2 separate regions of the Homo sapiens genome follow, and region 1 is linked to region 2. Evidence: promoter capture Hi-C in human tissues and cell types (Jung and others, 2019). All regions are on one chromosome and are shown on one strand. Each heading gives the region's core, a stretch centred on a gene start or on the middle of the fragment in contact. The rest is flanking DNA. Distances are from core to core; before and after follow the strand shown.

Region 1 (6,677 bases), core at 1-2,500, 960 kb after region 2:
ACAATTTAGTTTCTTTCAGCCTAAACTTTCTGGTTTTCTTTCCCTAGTCTTTTCCCATGTCATAGGGATGAATCTAGACACTTGTTTTACAACTTTTGTATATTTTACTGTACAATGCTTTTAAACACGTAAGTGAATGAATTAGCTACAAAAACCACAAGTTAAGTCACTTACCTTTTCTTTAAGTTCTTTGTATTGTGCCTGAAGTACCTCTAATTCGAAATTATCTTTAATTGGAACAGTTTCTCTGTTTTTCCCTGAAGGATTTTTTGACATGCCATCTAATAATCTGTGGACCTTATGATCACCTGTAAAAAATAGTTCCATATACATTTCAGGACCCAATATTTTCCCACTTTTGCCAGAAAATGCTGAAAATACCCACTTTTTTTTTTTTTTTCTTTTTTGAGATAGGGTCTTGCTCTGTTACCCAGGTTGGAGTGCAGTGGTGTGATCACTGCTTACTGCCACCTTGACCTCCTGGGTTCAAGTGATCCTCCTGCCTTAGCCTCCTGTGTAGCTGGGACTACAGGTGTGTGCCACCATGCCTGGCTTTTTTTTTTTTTTTTTTTTTGGATTTTAGTAGAGATGGCGTTTCACCATGTTAGCCAGGCTGGTCTTGATTTCCTGTCCTCGCGATCCACCCGCCTCAGCCTCCCAAAGTGTTGGGATTACAGGCGTCAGCCACTGTGCCTGGATGCCTGGCTAATTTTAAAATTCTTTGTAGAGATTGGGTCTCCTTATGTTGCCCAGGTTGGTCTTGAACTCCTGGGCTTAAGCAATCCTCCTGCCTTTGCCTCCCAAAGTGCTGGGAAGAATTACTCTTGAGAGCAAAGCAGGGAAAGATCTAGTAAGCAATATAGATGTTTTTCAACCTAAGAACATGGTTCAAACTCATAAATGATCCTTCTTTTTTTTTTTTTTTTTTTTTGAGACAGAGTCTCGCTCTGTTGCCCAGGCTGGAGAGCAGTGGCGTGATCTCGGCTCACTGCAACCTCCACCTCCCAGGTTCAAGCGATTCTTGTGCCTCACCCTCCTAGGTAGCTGGAATTACAGGCGTGTGCTACCACGCCCGGCTAATTTTTATATTTTTAGTAGAGACGGGGTTTCACCATATTGGCCAGCCTGGTCTCAAACTCCTCGCCTCAAGTGATCAGCCCACCTTGGCCTCCCAAAGTGCTGGGATTACAGGCGTGAGCCACCACACCCGGCTGAAACTCATAAATGATCCTTCTAAAACAACAGATCCTATTATTCTTTCCCTATCCTTCATCCAATTCCAAGAGTCTCATCTAAAGCCTGAGGAGATCTCATTGGCCAGAACTCAATGATCTACTTATTATTCAGTAATAGTTACTGACCACATGCAATATGCCAGGCATGTTAGGCTCTACAGGTACAATAGTGAGCAAAATTGATACTTCCTTACACTCACAGAGCTTAAAAGACATTCAACAAATAATCACACAGATAAATGTAAAATTACAACTGTGATTAAGAACTGCAGAAGAGAACAAATATAGGAAAGCCTATAATATGACAGCAATCTGACTTAAGTGGGATGATTGGAACATTTCCCTAGGGAAGACTTGAAGGAGCTGAGAGCTGAAGGACAAGTAGGAATTAACCAGATGAGTGGAAATGAATGAATGAAAAGTATACTCAATGTACAAAGAAAGAACAATGTATAAAGTTCCTGTATTGTAAAGAAGCAGAGAGAATTCAAAGAATGTTAGTGCAGCCAGGACCCAGAGAGTGAGAAAGGGCCAAACCAGGCTGGGCCTTTCAGGCCATGTTAAGGATTCTGGTCTTCACACTAGAAGAAATAAGAAATTATTAAAGGGCTTTCATTAGGGGTGTTCATGGCTGGGTGCGGATGGCTCATACCTGTAATCTCAGCACTTTGGGAGACCAAGGCGGGTGGATCACCTGAGGTCAGCAGTTTGAGACCAGCCTGGCCAACATGGCGAAACCCCGTCTCTACTAAAAATACAAAAATTAGCCAGGCATGGTGGCGGGCACAAGTAATCCCAGCTACTTGGGAGGCTGAGGCTACTCGGGAGGTTGAGGCAAGAGAATCTCTTGAACCTGGGAGGTAGAGGCTGTGGTGAGCCAAGATGGCATCACTGCACTTCAGCCTGGGTGACAGAGTGAGACTCCGTCAAAAAAAAAAAAAAAAAAAAGGGTGTTCACGTATATCTGTGTAAGACACAGCCAGATTTGAGTTTTGAAAAGATCACTCAGAATGTGATGTGAAGCCTCACTTGTAGGGAGTCAAGACTGGAAATGGGAAACCAATTTAGCAGACCATTGTTCAAGAGAGGACTCATGGTAACACAGATCAGGCAGCTGGTAGAAGCAATGTGAATAGGATAGACTCCAGAGAAGGATTAAGAAGGTAAGCTTGACATGCTTTCCAAATAAATTAGATGTAGAGTCAAGGAAAGGGGAAGAGTCGCTTTGTGCCACTGGATGGAGAGTCGTGCTAGTTACTTCCTTGTGGAACATCTGGTCATCATTCTCTGAATGTCTGCTTTGCCGGCACCATGCTAGAAGTGCTGGAGGAGGACTGGGTTTCCAGGAAATGATCGTGTTGAGTTTAAGGTGCCTTGAGACACCCAAGTACAGATGCAAGGTGCACTCAAAACATTTCTCTTTCTGGGAGTCCTCAAGACTTCACTCACTCCTCAACTAGAATGTAAGCTCCATGAAGGACAGTTTTTGTATTTTGTTCATTGTAAGGTCAGCTGCAGTTCCTCACGTTTGGGCACCTAGCACAGTTTACTGGTTGTATAAAAGAATAAATTTATTTCATCTCTTGCCTGTGTCTGGCTCCTCCCATGCTCACACTGCCCAAGGGAGACAGTGGGCTTCATAAGATCTAAAGCCGCTCAAACTTGTCACAAGAATGGGTCCCCATGCATGGGTAGTGATGGTTCTGATGGTGGTGGTAGGTGTGTTCCAAGGATCTCTGCTTAGAACCAAGAACCAAGTGGCCTAAACTTTAGAAAATAACGTAAAATGTCAACTTAGCCTTCTGTGTTTCAAATCGGCTGTTTGACCTGGCTAATGCATTTCCCCCTAAAATCAAAGGACCTTCTGGAAGACAACCGCTGCTTAAATCAGGGTGTTCCCATATTTTAAAAAGGCGAAAAGGCAGTGCTGGCCGCGAGGTTCCGAAGCCACAGCCATCAAGGGGATCTGGCGCGGTTGACAACTCCCTCCGAGCAAAAGGCCGCGAGGAGCACTCACTGGACACGTCCCGAGCCGCGGCCGGACATTGGCTCAGGGCCTGTGACGCGAGGGTGTCAAGCTCCTCCAGGTCGTCGGCAGTGAAGTCCCCATGCGCGCCGAACGGGTCGTCAGGGTCCGGGGCAGCGGCTGCGGAGAAGCCCCGGGCCCGCTTGCTCGGGGGGTGCCCGGTGCCCGGCGGCGGGCCGGGGCGAGGCGCCGGGGGCTCGCTCCGCCTCTTGCTGCCTGGCGCGGAGGTCCCCGCCATGCTTTCCGCTCACCCCAAGTATCCGACAGCGCCGAGCTAGACTTGCCTGCCGCCAGGCCGGAGAACTGGACCAACCGTCCGCGCGCCGCCGCTTGCCTCCGCCGCGAGTGCCCCGCCCCTGGCCCAGGGGCCAATCAGCTGGCAGGCGGAGGGCGCGGAGGAATGACGAACGTCCGAGCGCGCCGCCACACCCGGCCCCGCCCGGTGTTTAGAGGTCCACGGGCGGGATTCGGCAGGTTTGCTGCAAGGACTCAGTGCGGCGCGACCCGTTACCGGAGAGGCGGGCCGGAGGCGCACCAGCTCCGCCGCGCTGGTGGCTTTGCGCTCCCTCCCTGGCATTCCGTGGAGGAGGGCCGCGCAGGAGCAGCCTGCCCTAGCATTCACGCGTGTTGCGTTTGAGTCGAGCCAGGCATCATTCAGGGATGTGGTCTCCGTGACCTCGCTTTCCTTCTGCCGCCAGACCCACCTCCCACAAACCCCTAGGCTTTCTTGAGGAGAGTGGAATTTGTTGGGTGAGGAGTATGAATAGAGCTGTCGTGTGCAGACATCTTCGGGTTTAGTGAATGTTTCACATGTGTACATTTGAGGTAGGCCCAGGGAGGAGGAAAGTCCAAGGAGGAATGATGTTTGGAGCTGTTCTTGTGTGGGAGGGGGTGGGAGCTGCTCAGGCTGTTAACATCCATTCCTCTGAGTGCTGGACTGTTTTTTTTTCCTAAGCTCTGGTTGTATAGAATAGGGCTCAGGAGGTCAAGGAAGTCCCCCTGTAAATGGCACCTGCGCTGTCCTACAAGTTGAGTCAAGTTAGCAGGATAGAGGGGTAGGAGGCTGGCACATAAGACTAACACGAGAATTCTACATTGAAAGGGAGGCCACACAAAGGCCAGGTAAGAGTTACCGGTGGCGAACAGAGGTAAAGCTTCACAAAGGAGCAGCAATTTGAGGTGGGCTTGCGTGCCTGACAGATTTTATTGGGCAGCTGTGGTGTGCAGAAGTTAGCCGCAATAGAGAATTTGGCAATGGAGAGTAACAGGAGCAAGACTCTTTCAGCCTTACCTGCTCAGTGCCAAACTTCACCTGTGAGTGTCCTAGGAATATTTGTGAAAGCATTAAATGAAAAGAGTAAATGAAAAAGAGAGTGCTATCAGGGCCTATAATGTCTAAGGAGTTTAAAATTTTTTGGAGCAACTGGTAGTCTCCGTCAGATAGCTTCCCAAGTGTTGCATGCTTAATTGCTGCAGGACTCTGGTCCTGGAAAGAGACAGGACTGTTCATTTGTTAAAGAGGGATAGGTTCCACCAAGTAACTTGCTTTCAGGAACAGTGTGAATCACTGGTGCTCAGGTTTGTTTTAGCAGCATACGGCTGGGTGCCAGCTAGCAAGGCCCCACAGGGAATGCCTGAAGCCTACTGAAGGGTGCTACTGGCTGTGCAACTTTCTGGAGAGGACCAACACAGGCTTCCCCCTGCCCCCTCTCCCGCGTTAATATCTAGTACATTAATCATGAAAGTTTTCAATATTCTAAAACCTAGTTTTGATTTAGCAGTCTCATAATGGTTCCAGAGCGCTCTTCGACAATATTCTCAGAGAAAGCTGAGCATTATTAACATAATTGTATTAAGGGCCTGGGAGGGAAATCCAAATACTTGTGCTTCTGAATTAATTTTTTTTTTTTAAATACAGGGTCTTGTTCTGTCTCCCAGGCTGGAGTGCAGTGGTGTGATCTTGGCTCACTGCAGCCTCGAACTCCTGGGCTCAAGTGATCCTCCCACCTCAGCCTCCCAAATGGCTGGGACTACAGAAGTGCACCACCACACCCAGCTAAGCATTTTAAAACATATTCAGCACACATTATGGATGGTCTCTGTCTTTGCATTTATTGAGGGGCAAGCGGTAGGTATGCCTGGGACTCCAGTCCTGGGCAGCAGGAGGTAGAGTGAGCCCCCATTTTGCCTCACCCCCAACCCCTTGCCTGGCACTGGCACCCCCTCCATCCACCAGCAAGTGGGCTGGGGCTTCCCGCAGCTGCTGCCCTGGACCTGTTTGGTGCGCATGGGGACTTCACTGCTAGCAACTTGAAGGATCATGTAATTTGCCCTGCCCTGCCTCTTCCACAGTAGAGAAGTTCCTTGACAACAGGAACTGTTCCGTTACATACCCCAGTGCCTGCATATAGCAGACGCCTTACATGAACAGATGAACAAGTCTCATCAAAATATACGGCAATTTGGATGTGACAACATAAAGATGGGTTTTCTTTTAAAAGCACAAATTCTGGTCAGGCACAGTGGCTCATGCCTGTAATCCCAGCACTTTGGGAGGCTGAAGCAGGCAGATCACTTGAGGTCAGGAGTTTGAGACCAGCCTGGCCAACATGGTGAAACCCCTCTCTACTAAAAATACAAAAAATTAGCTAGGCATGGTGGCGGGTGCCTGTAACCACAGCTACTTGGGAGGCCAAAGCAGGAGAATAGTTTGAACCCGGGAGGTGGAGGTTGCATTGAGCAGAGATCATGCCACTGCACTCCAGCCTGGGTGAGAGTGAGACTCCACCCCCTCCCCCACCAAAAAAAAGTGCAAATTCTTCCACTAAACTCATGTAAGGTATTCTGTCAGGTATACAACCACACAAGAACGCCATCCTTTCAAATGAGTTGGTTTAATTTCAGGTGATACAAAGTTTAGGGTAGAACAAGGACCAAAGAACAGACTCTGGCAAGATTCTGAGCTGGTTTTACTTTAAATTCACAGTTATGGTAGGAACGACTTAGTGAAAACAACTAAAGAGATGATGAGCCACTGTAAGATTTTTCTTTTTTTACAAAAGTTTATTCTTAAATGTACAACAGCTCCAAGACAACACTTAATTCCAGCTATACGTGGCAAAAGATGTTATGGCAGGGAATAGAGAGGTTTAAATACAGATGAAATAAAGGGTCACCATCTCCTCAGGCACAAGGAACAGCTTACTTTTTGCCAGATTTCTTAATTCCACCTGTGGCTGCAAAAGAAAAATAGTCACAATTAGGGAAAAATATAGTTCTTACGGTAGAAGCCCCACGGGCCTGCTGTGGACCTTAGTAAAGCCTGGCTTTTGTATTGGGCATTCACTTTAACACAAGCATGGATAGCAGCTTCACTGATACTGTCTGTTCTAGGTAAAGGTAAAATGAGGATGAGA
Region 2 (6,101 bases), core at 2,016-4,515:
CTGGCCAACTCAGGAAAAATTTTTATGGGGTCACATCTTGGGGATGGAAGAGGGACAGGAAAAGAAACCTAAGACAAAAGAACTGATGGTCTTCCCAACCCAGAGGCTTCCTGAGTTATCACCCCTGAGAGAGGAAGAACACAATCTCTCTCCTTAAGGCACCCAGATAAGAGTACAGGCAAACTCTTCACTTGCCCAGTGCCTGGGTGAGGGAGCAGGCTTAAGAGGCAGAAGAGGCCCAGCCCTGTAGGCACTGGGTACTCCCTGCTACCAACCCTGAACCCCCGGCAGTTGTCCCTGAGGTCTGGGGAGTAGCAGAACCCAGTGTAGAAGCCAGCAGACCCAGTGATGCCCTTGGAGACCCTCTGCTGCCTTCCCTTATTCTCTGTGGGTTTTGAGAGGTTCGTTTGCTGCCATTTCCCTGAAAGTGATGGAGAGAGAGAAGAGAGAGTGGTTATTCCATGGGCAGAACAGTTGCTGAAATTGGCTCTCCCAAGCTCCTTCTTGGGGGCTGAGCTAGGCTCAGTAAGGTCACATAACAATCTAGACCTCTCTGCTGGTCTCCCACAGCCCACCCTGGGCCCAGCACCTTCTCCCTGCAGACTCATTCTTCTTCCTGGTTCTCCATGTTAGTACGGCATTGCCATCCTTCTCTAGTTTTTTTATTCTTTTTATTTATTACTATTGTTATTACTTTTCTTTTTTTGAGACGGAGTTTCACTCTTGTTGCCCAGGTTGGGGTGCAATGGCAAGATCTCAGCTCACTGCAGCCTCCACCTCCCGGGTTCAAGCAATTTTCCTGCCTCAGCCTCCCAAGTAGCTGGGATTACAGGCGCCCGCCACCACACCCAGCTAGTTTTTGTATTTTTAGTGAAGACGGGGTTTCGCCATGTTGGCCAGGCTGGTCTCAAACTCCTGGCCTCAGGTGATCTACCCTCCTCAGTCTCCCAAAGTGCTAGGAACAGGCGTGAGCCACCATGCCCGGCCTGTTATTTTTTTTGAGACAGAGTCTCACTCTGATGCCCAGTCTGGAGTGCAGTGGCGTGATCTGGGCTCACTGCAACCTCTGCCTCCTGGGTTCAAGTGATTCTCATGCCTCAGCCTCCCGAGTAGCTGGGATTACAGGCGTATGCCACCATGCCCAGCTAATTTTTTCTATTTTTAGTAAAGACGGGGTTTCCCTATGTTGGCCAGGCTAGTCTCAAACTCCTGACCTCAAGTGATCCGCCCATCTCAGCCTCCCAAAGTGCTGGGATTACAGGCATGAGCCATGGGGCCTGGCCTCTTCTCTAAGACAGAAACCTGGGCAGTGGCAGCCTTTCTAACCTCTAGCCCTAACTCTTGGACCCCTTTATCTACTTGCCATGAAGTAGGCATTTATAAAGGCAAATTAGATCAGACCACAGCCTTGCTGAGTTAGTCTTTCAATGGCTCCCAGGGTCCAACAAGCTCTCACGTTCAAGCTCCAGCATCACAGTCTTACCTATTCTAATATGTCACCCGTATTCTTCCCTCTTAGCCTTGCTCAATCCATTCCCTTTGCTTGGTACACTTTGTCACCCTGTGGCATTTGATCTCGGCTTAGGTGTCTTTCTTGGGAGAAGCCTTCCCTGACCACCCTTGCCCCATGCACTGCCGCCCTCCCCTAATAAATCCCTGGCTCCCCATGAGCAGGGCCCGGGTTGTCTTTGTTCTCTGGGCCTCGTGTGGCCCCTATCACGTGATAGGGGCCCAGAGATTATCTGAATGAATGCCCTGATTAGTGAGCGCATGTTTTGCAGAAGAGGAGGCTGACCCTGATGAGGTCAATGTGCTCAGGACAGAGATTACTGCCTTCCCAACTGAGGGGATTGTGCAGAGTGGAATCCAACAAACCTGTCATTTCATCTCTCTGAAATTATGACAATACCACCACCTATCCTACAGGCTGCTGAACAGCATGATGATGGACTGTCCAGACCTTGGTGTCACCCTAACTTGAAGCCTGAGCTCTACGTGCAGACTTGAAGCTTGCTGCAAAGGCCATTAAGCTGGTGGGCTTAAAGCCTGAGAACTCCCCTCTCTGTCACCAGCACAGGAGTGTCCTTGGAATGCCAAGCATGGGGTTGCGGTATGGACAGATTTACTCACCACGAAGGGAAATGCGTGGAGCCATCAGGCGTGGATCCATTCTGACCACCCAGACCTGGAGGCAGAAACACATCCAGAGCTGCAGAAGGCTGGGGTGGGAATCTGAGCAGGCATCAGCCCAGGTCAGGTTAGAGACCACTGGTATTGTTTGGTGAAGTCTGGTGAGGGTCCTAAGGGACTAATGGTATTGCCAGGTGAGAGTTCTGAGGAACAGATACAATGTGATGGGTGGACTGGTGGGGATTCTGGCGTAAAATGGTATGGTGGCATGAGTCAGGGCACAACGTTAAGTTCTCCCATCCAAGTACCTGGCTTAGCTTCCGAGGTCAGATGCGTTCAGGGTAGTAAGGCCGTGAACCAATGTTAAGTTCTGATGAGCCTCTTGCAGGATAGTGGGGAACCCAATGGTACAGTCGGGAGAGGGTGGGGGCGGGGGCGGCCAGCCCACGGAGGTTCGTAGGAAGCCTCACCTGGACGGTGATACAACCCGGTCACTGTATTCCCGTAGAACCCCCACGCCAGCTGGATGCCCAGGAGACTTAACACCAACCACAGCAGCAGCAGCTTGAAGAGGGTCACGCGCATGTCCTGCGCCTCCCACTCCCGCAAGAACTCGCTGCCCAGCGCGCCCAGCACCGTGGCCGGCAGAGCCTGCAAGGCCTGCCCAGACCAGGACTCCGCCATGACTGGCCCTCGCCCCACCCGGGGTACTGTCACCGTAGTCCCCACCACGCACGCGTGTGGTCTTCCGGGACCAGGCCCGTTAGTGCGCACGCGTAAACCCAGCCAGGGTGGGGCCTACTTCGCGTGCGTGAAGAGTTGGCAGTTCGGGGAGGAGTATTAAAACCGCGCACGCGCACCTAACCCCACCCTGCTTGCTTAAGGGATGAGTGACTCCGGGAGTACAAAATAGCAACCAGGTCTTTTATAGCCCCGGAGTTCCCGTGATGCCCCACGCGGCTGCAATGATTGGTTAAGGGTTTTGCTTTTAGGGCGTGGACGGGCTCCTGAGCAATAGTGGATGAGCTGTGAGTGCGCGCGCGTGCGCGGGGCCGCGACCTGTGCCGGCTCGAGCCCGCTGGGCACTCGGAGGCGCGCACGTCGTTCCCCGCCCTCCCGCCGCCGCCCGCCCTCGCTCTCTCGCGCTACCCTCCCGCCGCCCGCGGTCCTCCGTCGGTTCTCTCGTTAGTCCACGGTCTGGTCTTCAGCTACCCGCCTTCGTCTCCGAGTTTGCGACTCGCGGACCGGCGTCCCCGGCGCGAAGAGGCTGGACTCGGATTCGTTGCCTGAGGTGAGCGGAAGGGTTCCCTCCAGGCGCCGCGGGGCCCCAGGCCCGCCAGCCCGGTACTCTTCCGGCCGGCAGGCCGCCGCACCGCCGCGGCCGCGCCCCACCGGCTGCTCGTGGCCGAGCCGCCCCTGGCCCCTGACCCTTGACCTGACTCCCAGCCCGGGCCCCGCGCCCCAAGCGGCGACCCCGCCCGCGCAGTCCCCGGAAGCGCGCCCGGTAGTCTCCTGTGCCCCTTCCCCCGCCCGGCCGGGCCTGGTGGAGCCCAGGCTGCCCGCCTGCCCGCCCTCGGTCCCCGGAGCTTCCTCTCCCAGCGGCGCCGGGCAGGGCGGGGGCTTTGGGCCGGGCCCCGCGACCGCGCAGTGTAGCCGGCCGCTGAAAGCGCGCGTGGCTGTCGGAGTTGAAATGGGAAAGAAACTCTTTACAACTCCATTTTGCTTTTTACGTTTAACGAGAAACGACAATCACTGTTTCATATTGATTAAAGTCCAGTTACACTTTGGGTAGGTTTTCTTTTAATGCAGACTTGTTGGAGACTGTGTAAGTAAGTAAAAGATTGTATTGAACGCTTAGGGGTATGATCTACGGCCATACCACCTGGAACGCGCCCGAACTCGTCTGAAAGCTTTGGGGTCTGTTTTGAGTGGAAAAGGGGTATTTTCCATTTGGAAAAAAAAAACAACACACAAAACTGTAAATGATTTAAGCGATGTTGCATGAAAATAGATGCAATGTTGCTTAGTCGAAGTCGCTGTATTGATTAGGAATGATCTAAATATCTGTACCTTAGTTACTGATTGGATCTACAGTTACGGGTCGTCTTCATTGAATAGCGCTATTCGCATCCAAGTTGATTTGTTCACAAACCTTGTTTAGTAGTTTACGGTGGAAAATTGGAATCCTTTTTACCTCAAAGTTGGTTCCACTTGTGTTTTTTAATAGTTCTGATTTTAAATTTTTACCTCTGTTGTTGACTTGTTTGGTTCTGTCTTGAAGAAAGTCTTAAACGTTTCTTGCAGGTGTGTAAGTAGATATTTCACTCTGCCTTTCTGAAGGAGAAAAATTGAAAAACCAAAAAACTTCCATAATTTAAAATGTTGTATGTGGAGAGAATTTTTCAACCACTTAGTATCACCCAGATGTGTAATGTGTACCATGCGGATGATTGTCACCTTAGATGTGGCTAGATTGGCGGAGATACTGTTTTGAGCATTTGGCACAAGTGACATTGGACTGAAAAACTAGTTTTTAATTGTAAAGAATGACTTATTGAAGGATCTCTGGATAACTTGTCTTAATTGGTTCCATCTACTTTTGTGGAGCACTGATGGCTCTTGGGGACATTAAATATATAAGGTGCACCTTGGTTTGAGTTAAAGTCTAGTGCTAGATTTATCCTCTCTGTTCTCATAAAAATCTGTGTTGGAGGGAAGAAGAGAGTAGGAATACTGTGTAGTTCTTGAGTTTTAGATCTAAGAGGAATCTTTCAGGACTGGTTGTCCAACCCCATTTGCAGATGAGCAAACTGAGTCCCAGAGACTTAAGTAAATTTCCCAAGGTTACCTATCTAGTCAGGAGCAGACCAGAACTGTCTGCTCTGTTAAGGTATTCTCCATTTACTCCCAAGCAGTTGGCCTCCAGAGTCAGCTAAAATTCAGGACTTCTAGCTTATTCCATTGTTTCTTCTTTTAAACCTTGTTGATGGTGAATAGTTTGGGAGAAACTGTTCATTTGCCAAAAAATTTCGGTTCATTAGCTTACACAGCACTCTCCCCTTGTTAACTGGATGGTCCTGCCTTCAATTGAGGGAGATAGATGAATGTACGAGGGTCCCTGGTTGGCCTAATCATGGCTTTGTTTGGATTTTTTTTTAAGGGACCAACTTCTAGAGCAAGGCCTACACTTTACTGCTTCAAAACCAAGATATTTAGGTCAGGCTAAGATATTTTTAGTTAACTGTGGGCACTTTTGACTGTTGATTTGGGGTACTGCGTGTATCAAGTAAACAATTCCCTGTGCACATGCATGTGGTGGTGGTGGAGTATTTTCGTAGTCCTGATTTCTTTCCATTTGTCAGTTAACTGCTTTTTAAAAGTTTATTCTGGTCATATGGGGGTGTAAGTTATTAGGAGAGTAAAAACAGGTAGCTCTTCAGGTGTTTCTTGTCCATGGGGTGGAGTCCATGCAGTGACTGGAGAAGGTGCTAGTTTGCGTCTTTTTAATTGTCTTAGAGAGCTGAGAGATATATGTTAACTCTGAGAAGAAAGACTGATCAGCTTCTAAGAGAGCTAATTTGAAGCTGCTGGCCTTCTGTAGACAGCACCTTGGGTTTAATTGCATTGTGGTTACTAGTGATTATGATAAATAGTACATAGTCACTGGATTTTAAAATTGGCCATATAGTTGTAGTTTTATATTTATTTTTATTTTTGAAATGGAGTCTCACTCTGTTGCCCAGGCTGGAGTGCAGTGGCGCGATCTCAGCTCACTGCACCGTCTGCCTCCTGGGTTCAAGTGATTCTCCTGCCTCGGCCCCTGGAGTAGCTGGGACTACAGGCACCCACCACCATTCCTGGCTAACTTTTGTATTTTTAGTAGAGATGGGGTTTCACCGTGTTGGCCAGGCTGGTCTTGAACTCCTGACCTCAGGTGATCCGCCTGCCTTGGCCTCCCAAAGTGCTGGGAT

What was found. The method cuts DNA at HindIII sites, captures the fragments that hold promoters and counts their contacts. A contact is called where the count stands out against the background at its distance.
Region 1: a contact is called between a fragment that was not itself captured here and the fragment with the promoter of RHOA in region 2, in 1 of the 25 tissues and cell types used here (pancreas).

What each region holds. Positions count from the first base shown.
Region 1 is chr3:48,443,668-48,450,344 of GRCh38, reverse strand. It overlaps ATRIP (ATR interacting protein), which reads right to left and starts at 3,608. Exons shown (of 13, transcript NM_130384.3): 1 at 3,253-3,608; 2 at 175-308. The coding sequence starts at 3,499. ATRIP-TREX1 (ATRIP-TREX1 readthrough) reads right to left here and starts at 3,566. Exons shown (of 15, transcript NR_153405.1): 1 at 3,253-3,566; 2 at 175-308. It overlaps TMA7 (translation machinery associated 7 homolog), which reads right to left. Exons shown (of 4, transcript NM_015933.6): 4 at 6,137-6,497. The coding sequence ends at 6,463. It also overlaps a transcript of CCDC51 not described here. RefSeq lists a silencer at 3,304-3,663. The HindIII fragment of the contact is 4,318 bases long and covers 1-3,409 here.
Region 2 is chr3:49,409,140-49,415,240 of GRCh38, reverse strand. It overlaps RHOA (ras homolog family member A), which reads left to right and starts at 3,265. Exons shown (of 5, transcript NM_001664.4): 1 at 3,265-3,421. TCTA (T cell leukemia translocation altered) reads right to left here and starts at 2,818. Exons shown (of 3, transcript NM_022171.3): 1 at 2,601-2,818; 2 at 2,131-2,185; 3 at 1-421. The coding sequence starts at 2,814. The coding sequence ends at 379. RefSeq lists enhancers at 2,606-3,015, 2,951-3,245, 3,144-4,118 and silencers at 3,086-3,385, 3,446-3,725, 3,736-3,825. The HindIII fragment of the contact is 6,127 bases long and covers 277-6,101 here.